Linked DNA regions of Homo sapiens: all the other regions are linked to region 1. Evidence: promoter capture Hi-C in 16 types of primary human blood cells and fetal thymus (Javierre and others, 2016). All regions are on one chromosome and are shown on one strand. Each heading gives the region's core, a stretch centred on a gene start or on the middle of the fragment in contact. The rest is flanking DNA. Distances are from core to core; before and after follow the strand shown. Region 1 holds the start of TAAR8 (trace amine associated receptor 8). Region 2 overlaps SLC18B1 (solute carrier family 18 member B1). Region 3 overlaps SLC18B1 (solute carrier family 18 member B1).

Region 1 (3,556 bases), core at 705-3,204:
TAAAAGAAGACAGCCATCTGCAAGTCAAGGAAAGAGGCCCTCAAAAGAAATTCACCCTGCTGACACCTAGACCTTGGACTTCCAGACAGTAGAATCATGGGAAAATACACTTTTGTTGTTTAAGCCATCCAGTCTGTGATACTTCCTTATTGCACCCCTAGCCAAATAATACAAAAACCACTTAAAGAATGCAGCTCTAGCCAACTAATACAGTGTTGCAAAAGACACTTAAAGAATGGCCACTTGTAATTCCAACACTTTGGGAGGCTGAGGTGGGCAGATCACCTGAGGTCAGGAGTTCGAGACCAGCCTGGCCAACATGGTGAAACTCCATCTGTACTAAAAAATACAAAAAGTAGTCAGACATGGTGGCATGTGCCTGTAATCCCAGCTACTCAGGAGGCTGAGGCAGGAGAATCGCTTGAACCTGGGAGGCGGAGGTTGCAGTGAGCCGAGATCACGCCACTGCACTCCAGCCTGGGCAACAAGAGCAAAACTCCATCTCAAAAAAAAAAAAAAAAAGAAAAGAGAAGAAAAGAAAAAAAGTCCACTTGAAAATAAATGAAAGTTGAGCATTAAAAAAAAAAGATGATTCAAAATTTCACATCCAAAAATGCAATTCAGAATTCAGTAAATCGGAAAAAACAAGTGCATGTGGCAAGGATGTGTACAAAACATAGAGACAAGTGACATGTGTGAACCACTTTATCATTTATTATTTAATGTAGTCAATATCTTTACAATAGTTTAATAGTTTAATCTTCCTGTGACCTTTTTCCTGGTTAATTTGAAAAGTGATATATTTCTCCAATTTTGAAAAGTTTTATTTGTTTCTTATATTTAATTTCCTTATAAATTCATAATTTTAAAAATATTCTTAATTTTCTCAACTTAGTGCTTAAACTTATTCTAAAAATAAACTAATGGTTGATGAACTAGCCTTTAAAACATCTCCACTTAAAATAAGTTTTATGGCTTTCCTAAACCAAGGATAAAATAGAGCATAAATCAAAGGATTCATGGCTGAGTTATAATAAGCACTCCAACAGCAAATTTCATAGATATAGGCAGGGGTCAGGAAGCCCATAAAGGCATCAATTAATATATCAACTGTATACGGTAACCATGAAATAACAAATGCTAGTACCGTGACCCCCAGGGTTTTAGCTGCTTTCCTCTCTCTCTTGGCCACTCTGATTTTATAACTCTCTGAGGATGATTCTACTTTGCTACTAGTAGTTTCAATTTTTATAGCTTGTTGTTTAGCTATAAGAAAAATCTTACTGTAAAGAATTATCATAACAAGGGTAGGTATGAAGAATAACAGAAAATCTATCAACACCCAGCCTTGACTTACAATAATTTGACAGCCACCTACGCAGTTGAGAGCACTTACTAATTCCTCCAGCCCATCATCATTGACACCTGTGTAGAACACAGCACCGCTGTACGTGAGAGGCAGAATCCAGGACACGCTGATGCAAATTCCCGACACAGACACGGTGAACTTGGTAGCATAGACCAGGGGATCAGTAACCACAATGTACCTGTCGATGCAGATGAAGCACAAGTGGAGGACAGAAGAGTAACAAAATGCCACATCACAGCAACTGTGAAGAGTACAAAATTTGGCTCCAAAATACCAGCAGCTCTCCACCGTCCTGACCATGCTGAAAAGCATCACAGTCACACCTACCAAGAAGTCAGCACAGGCCAGAGAGGCAATGAGAAAATTGGTTGGAGAGTGCAGCTGCTTAAAATGAAGAACAGAAGTCATTACTAAGAGATTTCCAAATACAGCCAGCAAAGACCCAAAGCTAAACGCCGTGTACAGAATTACCCGGGACCCAGGAGAATAGGGAGTTTCAATACAAGATCCATTCACATCCTCATAGCAAAGCTGCACAACAGGTTGGGAAAAATTGCTGGTCATGGTTCTGCTGTTTGTTGTTTGCTATTTCTGTCCTTCCTTGTGATAGGGAATTATAATTTTGAATTCTGAAAATTAAAACAAAAACAAACTGCATATGTGAGTACTTACAAATTTTGTTTCATATTATATTCTTTTTCAATTTTAATTATAAAGAGAAATTAAATTCAAAAACATAAAAGATAATTCTGTCTTTAATCTCATAATTATTTCTGTCGCTATGTCTAAACCTCGTCATTAACCCCAAGCAAATCTACTATGAATTTTCATCAGCTGAGTAATCACATTAACCAAGTAATTGAAGAAATGTAATTTAAATACCTGGTTTTATATACATGTGAATCCTTCTTTTCAAAGGACGATCATGTATAATATAATTACATATTTGAGAAGTCACCTTTTAATAAGCTTCCATCTCCTAGGACATTTTAGGAAGCCAGCCAATCCATTGTACCCATTATAAATTCTTCACAAGGAATCCCCATAGTGTAAGGTGTGAATCATGAAATGAATCCCACTTTTGATAATTATAATTAATAAGTTCACCTACAATAGGAGAACTGTTTCTCTGTGCTCTGCAACTTGGTAGAAACACTTATGATTTTCATAACCATGAGATTTCTTTAAGTTCAACTGTCCTGAAATAGCCTAACCCAAGATTTGACAATAGTATTACCTATTCCTTATTTACAAGACTATCTATATAATTTGCAGCATCCAGCACAAAATAAAATGCAGAGACCCTTGTTCAAAAGTATGGACAAAAAGTGTCATTAAAGGTACTGAAATAGAAAGCTTTTACCTTTCTTTTATGGTCTTTCTTGGCCTGTCATAGTGTTCGATATTTGCTATGGAATGCCCTTGGACAAAGAGGTATTTGCAGGGCAAGTGAGGACTCTCACAGGTGTCTGCATTCCCTGCCTTGCAACTCAGCTTGCACATGGTCCACCCACTGCCAGATTCCCCCTCCTACCAGCTGCTGAAGTAATATGCCATAGTCAGGATGGGGGTGAGAAGCTGAGCCAGGGATTTGCCCTTCTCACAGGCCTGCTACCTCAACAAAAGGCAGACCAATGACCCCCAAGGGATTACAACCTGCACAGCAGAAAGCACTTGATACCTGGATTGGGGTTCATGAGGGGCTTGGCCCTGCTGAGGAGCTCATCAAACGTGCTGTGACGCTGCCAGCGGGAGATGGAGGCAACAGTCTATGCCTAGCCCTGAGACTGTGGAGGATGTGCCTGGCTGCAACTCTCCCTGTGATGCATCCAGTCCTCTGCAGGGATGAAAAGAGGATGGCAGTGGTCCCTGGTCAGAGCGGGTAGGAGGAGACTGGATGGAGCCCAAGGTGCCAGGGGGCAGGGGAACATGAGGCTGAATACCCCTCCCAGGGAAGAAGGAACAAGGTGTAATGCAAGACTACTAGTGGTCTGAAGTTCCAAGCACCCAGCACATGCTCCATTGTCTCTTCACTTAACAACACACACATTTGAATTTCAAAGACAGAAATTCAAGACAGCAACTATGAGCATGAAACCCTAATAGTAGGTCTCTGCACTGCTGCCCCAGTCATATGCCCATGGAATAACTGCCTGTTTCATTTCAGATATTAAATTATCTCTTTGT
Region 2 (3,573 bases), core at 660-3,159, 220 kb before region 1:
AGGACCAAAGAGATGGAGATATCAGGATGAATTCCCCCCCACCCCCCCGCCCCCAAAACTGTAAGGAGCTAAAGGACACTCTAACTGAATGAAATGGGTTAGATGGGAAAGGGAATGAGACTAGGCACATAATCGGTGAAATAACTTATCAGGGATCCTCACTTCCTTAGCATTAAGCTTTGTGTTTGTTAAAACGCTAATGTTTTTCTTTTTGTATTTGTTTTCTCCAAAACCCTTTTGCAGTCAGCTCTGGCTGCTGGTGCTGATATTAGTTGTAAGTGGCCTCTCTGCTGGAATGAGTATAATTCCAACTTTCCCGGAAATTCTCAGTTGTGCACAGTAAGTTACTTCCATTGCTTGAAGAGCTGTATTGTGAATAAGTAGTAAGTATCACAGGCTTTCTTGAATTTCTCAATTTTGCAGCATGTTGGATATTTTTGCCCCAATGTTAAATCTTCATGATTTTGTAGCATATGATATTATGATATAAATAGTAATAATACACTAATAGAAATGATAATAGTACATTAATAGCTAAAATGGGTTGTGGACAGATGTCTGGCTTGGTTTATGCCTCAGTATGTAAGTAATTTTGAAAAGCTAAAGCAAAATAGATAGGTCTCAGCATTGTTCCTCTTTCATGGAGGAGGTCCATGAGAGAGCCTAGAGTGACCAGCATCTGTCACCTGGTCATCATTCTTTTGTTTAATAGGCATGATGATGAAGAACACTAAGTACTATGGCTGTGCTGGGTCAGTTCAATAGTTCTCATGGGAATAAGGAACTATCTCTGTTTTTTAAAAGTTGCCTTTGTTCTCTTTCCATCTTCATCTCATTTTAAGAATTTCTTAATTATATATTTTTATAAGTATTTAATGCAAATGAGCCATGCTTCTTAATATCATATATATATGCAGAAAAATTATTTCTAGAAAACCATGGAGTAAATGTAACTATGAAAATTCTTTTAAATAAGATTTGCTTTTTATCTTAGAAGCAGAGTATTCTTGCTGTTGGTTTTTTTCCAGATTATCCTTGGTTTATCTTAATTGATCTATCATACAATTTTTTCTTTCACACAGGTTTTCCTTTTAATAATGGATACACTCATGTCTCTTTTTGCAGTGAAAATGGGTTTGAAGAGGGATTAAGTACATTGGGACTTGTATCAGGTCTTTTTAGTGCAATGTGGTCAATTGGGTGAGTAGTCATTTAATTTCTTTCTTTTTTTTTTTTTTTGAGATGGAGTTTCACTCTCATCACCCAGGCTGGAGTGCAATGGTGCGATCTTGGCTCACTGCAACCTCCGCCTCCCAGGTCCAAGAGATTCTTCTATCTCAGCCTCCTGAGTAGCTGAGATTACAGGTGCCCACCACCACATCTGGCTAATTTTTGTATTTTTAGTAGAGACAGGGTTTCACCGTGTTGGCCAGGCTGGTCTTGAACTCCTGACCTCAGGTGATCTGCCCGCCTTGGCCTCCCAAAGTGCTGGGATTACAGGCATGAGCCACTGTGCCCAGCCTCATTTAATTTCATTCATACTTGCAAGATGGAAAATATTAATACTATCCCTGCTTGATGTTGATGAAGAAATTGAAACACTGAGGGATCAGATGAGTTTCTCAAAGACAAACAGTTCATCTAGGGGAAAGCCAGAGTTCTAATCCATACCCTTTCACTCAACAATCAATGCCTATACCAACAGTTTAATACTTAGTCAAAATGGTTTCATATACTTTATCTTATTTGAGTGGTATTTATAAGTTCCTTTAATAGAAACATGTCTCTGATTTTTACAATTTATTCATTTATTCATTCATTTGTTTATTTTTTACCTTCTACCAGAAGGGTAACTATGCTAACAATGTAATATATTGTTTTGAATTGAGTTATATTAGTTGCAAATACTGAGAATAGAATAATATAAAGAATTTTTTAAATCTGTTTCATATTTTTTATTTTTATATAAGCCATCAACTTTTCAGAAGCAGTAATAATTTCAAAATTGTTAAAAAATTTTGAATGTCATTATCAGGTAGAATTATTTTCTTTTACTGAATGCTGTGCCCAGGAATTAGCTTTATCTTTAGTACTTATCTTCCAATGTAATGAAGACTTACAATTGAAGGATCATGTAGCTTTTCATGAAGTAATTATTTATTTTTTGCACTATTGAATACTTTTTCTTCTTTCTATTGTTAGTGCTTTTATGGGACCAACGCTGGGTGGATTTCTGTATGAGAAAATTGGTTTTGAATGGGCAGCAGCTATACAAGGTCTATGGGCTCTGATAAGTGTGAGTAATCAGTCTTTTATTTGCATTTTCCTTATATTTGTGGAAAAACTTGACTTGGAAAATTTACATTAATCAGTACTTTTAATTGTGTTTAAGGGATTAGCCATGGGCTTGTTTTATCTACTGGAGTATTCAAGGAGAAAAAGGTATGGTCAATTTTGGGGCTTTTTTTCTCTCTTTAAAAGTTAGCCAGTGCAAGTGGAAAATAAATAACATTTTACATTTATTCTTCCAGTCAGTGGATTTCTAAGCACTCTGAGGCTCATCAGTTGGTAGATACTTTTTTAATTTTTATTTTTTGAGATGGTGTCTTGCTCTGTCACCCAGACTGGCATGCAGTGGCACAATCTCAGCTCACTGCAACTTCTGCCCCCCGGGTTCAAGCGGTTTTCCTGCCTCAGCCTCCCACGTAGCTGAGATTACAGGCATGGGTCACCATGCCCAGTTAATTTTTGTATTTTTAGTAGAGACAGGGTTTCACCATGTTGGCCAGGCTGGTCTCGAACTCCTGACCTCAAGTGATCCGCCTGCCTCTGCCTCCCAAAATGCTGGGATTACAGGCGTGAGCCACCATGCCCGGGCAGTAGAAACTTTTTTAAAAAGATAGTTGGATGGAGATACAGGTACTGGTTTTTTGTTTGTTTGTTTGTTTTTAAGATGAGAAATATTGAGATTCATCTCTTCTTTCCCTCAATGTAGGTCTAAATCTCAAAACATCCTCAGCACAGAGGAGGAACGAACTACTCTCTTGCCTAATGAAACCTAGTCCGATGGATCCTGGATTGATACAAGGTTGAGAAATGAATGCTCCTGGCCTTAAACATCACCGTAGGAAGGGTTTTTAAAATTTTACGCGCAAAACTCCGTGGACCCCGTGCCAGTGTCTTGGAAGTGTCAACGTGTTTTTGGATGATCCTGTATTGGGCTGTACTTACTGTGATACTGAAAAGCTGTCCTGCTGAAGCAGCTATATTTGAAATATTAAGTATGAAAGGAGTAATTAAAAACAAGCAAAACAAAACAAGACTTAGTTTTTAAATGACCAAACTTGTCCTTAAAGATGTTGTTATTAACTCGAGTTAGTTCTTATTTCCTCTGTTTATTTTTTATTCTAAGTACACTGATTCTGTGAATGTACCTTTTTTATTAACAGGGAAAGAAATGAATTAATTTGATATGCTCTAAATACATAAAGGTGCTTCAAAATATGTAGAAACATTACTATGAAATCAGTTTTTAAAAGATATACTTTCTCTTTGTCCTGAGGTTTTTCGGTC
Region 3 (3,813 bases), core at 447-2,946, 240 kb before region 1:
TTGATTCTCCTGCCTCAGCCTCCCGAGTAGCTGGGATTACAGGCGCCTACCACCACGTCCGGGTAATTTTTTTTTTTTTTTTTTTTTTGAGATGGAGTCTCGCACTCTCGCCCAGGCTGGAGTGCAGTGGCGCGATCTCGGCTCACTGCAAGCTCCGCCTCCTGAGTTCACGCCATTCTCCTGCCTCAGCCTCCCAAGTAGCTGGGACTACAGGTACCCGCCACTACGCCCAGCTAATTTTTTTTTTTGTATTGTTTTAGTAGAGACGGGGTTTCACCGTGTTAGCCAGGATGGTCTCCATCTCCTGACCTCATGATCTGCCCGCCTCCGCCTCCCGAAGTGCTGGGATTACAGGCGTGAGTCACCGTGCCCGGCCGAATTTTTGTATTTTTAGTAGAGACAGGTTTTTGCCATGTTGGGCAGTCTGGCTTCGATCTCCTGACCTCAGGTGATCTGCTTACCTTGGCCTCCCAAAGTGCTGGGATAACAGGCGTGAGCCACCACGCCCAGCCCCGGCCCCGCTCCATATTCCCTCTTTTGACTTTAATTTCTTATGGACTCTAGCGCCAATGTTTATGCAAGGGAGGAATTCTGATTAATAGGGCCTATTCCTTCTAGGCATAGCCTTTTATATGGTGTTAAGATTTATAGCTAATGACACAGATTCAAAGATAATAATCCCTAGAAAGTCCAACTGGATTCTAGACGTCAATAGGATATAGTATGAAATGAATATGACTGGCTTGGAGTGTAGACAACATATCCATGTGTTTTATTTTGTGCTTTTTGCCAAATCCTTGGCTCACAGTGCAGTGGAAGCTTGTTAGTCCTCCAACTGCCTTTTAAACATGTAGTCCTTCGTTCTGTGTGTTACAAAAGAAGATAAAGTGGCTTCTCTGCTAAAGGAACAATATTGCCATGTACCCATACAGTGCTCTCTGGCTTCTAGTACACATTACCCCTTATTTATCCATTTAATCCCCGCAACAACCTCATACAGAATCTTGAGAATCTCAGCATGTTGCAAATGAAGAAACGGTCTCAGAAGTTGTGACTTGCCCAATTCAGTTCTATTAACTAGAGGTTTAATGAGTCCCTTCTCTAGAGCAGGCTAAGCATGGGATGTGTTAGGGTAGTATAAAAAAATCAGGGAAATGGCTTTCTCTTGTCTGCCCTTTGGGAGTGAAAAAATATGGGAAAAAAAAGGTTCCAATAATTTGGATATCCCTTAAGAAAAGGATGTCCAGAATGTTATAAGACTGTTTTTTTTTTTCTTTTTTTAAATCATTTTCTTCTGGCTTCCCTCTATCCATACTAATGTTATGAGAGCCTAGAAAGAAGAATGGTTAATTCTGCCATACATGGAGTGTGGATAGCAGAAGAAAGGGCGTTACTGAAAGGAACTTTCAGGCTAAATCTAAGTTGGGGCTTTTTTTTTGAGACAGGGTTTCACTCTGTCATCGAGGCTGAAAGTACAGTGGCATGATCAGAGTTCACTGCTGCCTCAACTTCCCAGGCTCAAGAGATCCTTTCGCCTCAGCCCCCTGAGGAGCTGGGGCACAGGCATGTGCCACCACGCCTAGCTATTTTTTTCTATTTTTAGTAGAGATGGGGTTTCACCATGTTGCCCAGGCTGATGTTGAGCTCCTGAGCTCAAGCAATCCGTCCACCATGTTGGCCAGGCCTCTCAAATGCTGGGATTACAGGTGTGAGCCACCGCACCTGGCCTAAGGTGGGCCCTAAGAAGTGTTAATTCTTATGGTGAACAACAGAGATGGAGGTGTTCTAGGTATAGTCACAGGAAGAGCAGAGTGAATGGCATGTTCCTGGGGAACAACAGACAGCTTCTTGATGTGGCTTGAGCCTGGGGTGAAGTGAGGTCTAATAGGAGACAGTGGATCTGAGGAGGCAGGCCTAAGATAGAAAGGAAGGGCACTTGTCAAGGACTTAGTCAGTGGGCAGTCATCAGAGGTGTTTGAGCAAGAAAGAGCAGTCTGGCCAGACTTGGGATTTTTAAATAATAATAATAACAATAATAATGCCAGGCATGGTGGCTCACGCCTGTAATCCCAGCACTTTGGGAGGCTGAGGTGGGAGGATCACCTGAGGTCAGGAGTTTGAGACCAGCCTGGCCAACATGGTGAAACCCTGTCTGTACTAAAAATACAAAAATTAGCCAGGCATGGTGGCACGTGACTGTAGTCCCAGCTACTCAGGAGGCTGAGACAGGAGAATTGCTTGAACCCAGGAGGTGGAGGTTGCAGTGAGCCGAGATCGCCCCACTGCACTCTAGCCTGGGCAACAGAGTGAGACTCCATCTCAAAAAAAAAAAAAATTAAAAAAAAAATAATAAGAGCCTGTGGAATTGAGATGGAGAAGAATTGGAGTGAGTGAATCAACCAGTGAGAAGGGCATTTCCTAGCTCAGCTGGAACTCAGTGAGTGCAACTAATGTTAGTTTCCTCTAAGTGAATAGGGACAAAGGAAAACCATGCTGTGGGTGTGTGCTTTTTAAGTTTTTGATTGAGTTTTGTGCTTATAGGAAATGATGACCAAAGAAAAAAGTCAAGCTTTTAAAGAATTAAAGTTCATTTTATTCAGAAGTCTTACCGAGGACTATAGGCTGAGTATTTCAGTTCACAGTTCATGTACAGGTAGTAGAGACTCAGTACATGCACGGTCACATCAAAGTTTGGGTGTAAGAGTACATCTGGTTATAGATTATGAATGTACCTTTGGTAATAGTTTATAAACGCATAATCACAACCCTGTTAGATGTTATCTTATGTGTAGGAAAAGGCAAAGCTGGGGCATTTATCATTTAAGGAATGTAATAGCTCAGGCAAGAGATGTGGGGGACCATGTGCTCTATCCTGCTCTGTCTTCAACTCATCCCTCCCAAGAGTTGCATGTTGTCACAGAGTCAGGGGTTTTATGACATTATGCTGGCAAGCAGAAGTGAGCAAAATGTGACTTCTTACATTTGCTACTTTTGTCTCGCCTCGCAGAGGGAAGGCTGAAAGAAAGGAGATAGAGGCAGGAGAGAGAACATTCTAACTTTAAAAGCTGTAAATATGAAGAGAAGGCTTTGATTTTTCATTTCTGATTAAAATCTTGTGGTCAACAAATGCATTGGTGAAGCCTCACCCTTCCTCCTGCATGTTCTGTCATTTTTCTTATTAGCTAAGCTAACTGGGCAAAGGAAAAACAGTGCCTTTCTTAAATTATGGTGTGGGATTCCTACTTCTATTCATCATTTTTCTTGCCACACTCATCTTTTGTCAGAGGACCAGAAATTGCTTATTTATTTATTTATTTATTGAGACAGAGCCTCGTTCCATCATGCCCAGGCTGGAGTGCTGCGGCATCGTCTCAGCTTACTGCAACCTCCGCCTCCTGAGTTCAAACAATTCTCCCGCCTCAGTCTCCCAAGTAGCTGGGATTACAGGCGCGCATCACCACACCCAGCTAATTTTTTTGTATTTTTAGTAGAGACGGGGTTTCACCATATTGGCCAGGCTGGTCTCGAACTCCTGACCTCAGGTGATCCACTCGCCTTGGCCTCCTAAATTGCTGGAATTACAGGAGTGAGCCACTGTGCCCGGCCTAGAAATTGCTTTTAATAGCTGTTTTTGCTTTCCTAATGTGAAGCAGGATCCATGTTCCAAAAATGACATTCGGCTGCTGCTGTAGCATGTGGTTCTAGCACATCCTGTGTCAGCATTCCATTTCCACAGCGAATATGGGAACATGCACATGATGGAAACTGTAGTGGCTCATGACCTGTAACCTTTGCAAGTTCCTGTCCTCATCT

What was found. The method cuts DNA at HindIII sites, captures the fragments that hold promoters and counts their contacts. A CHiCAGO score of 5 or more calls a contact.
Region 2: a contact is called between a fragment that was not itself captured here and the fragment with the promoter of TAAR8 in region 1, in 2 of 17 cell types (neutrophils and monocytes). The highest score is 5.7, in neutrophils.
Region 3: a fragment that was not itself captured here is called in contact with the fragment with the promoter of TAAR8 in region 1 in 1 of 17 cell types (monocytes); the score reaches 5.7 in monocytes.

The regions. Positions count from the first base shown.
Region 1 is chr6:132,551,070-132,554,625 of GRCh38, reverse strand. It overlaps TAAR8 (trace amine associated receptor 8), which reads right to left and starts at 1,954. Exons shown (of 1, transcript NM_053278.3): 1 at 870-1,954. The coding sequence starts at 1,933. The coding sequence ends at 905. The HindIII fragment of the contact is 7,110 bases long and covers 1-2,340 here.
Region 2 is chr6:132,769,759-132,773,331 of GRCh38, reverse strand. It overlaps SLC18B1 (solute carrier family 18 member B1), which reads left to right. Exons shown (of 14, transcript NM_052831.3): 10 at 244-339; 11 at 1,126-1,200; 12 at 2,203-2,296; 13 at 2,393-2,442; 14 at 2,996-3,573. The coding sequence ends at 3,062. Among named protein-coding and RNA genes, the nearest start is that of VNN2, 14 kb to the right of the region's middle. The HindIII fragment of the contact is 3,459 bases long and covers 180-3,573 here.
Region 3 is chr6:132,792,630-132,796,442 of GRCh38, reverse strand. The region is part of intron 2 of SLC18B1 (solute carrier family 18 member B1); the gene reads left to right. Among named protein-coding and RNA genes, the nearest start is that of SLC18B1, 4.1 kb to the left of the region's middle. The HindIII fragment of the contact is 1,750 bases long and covers 822-2,571 here.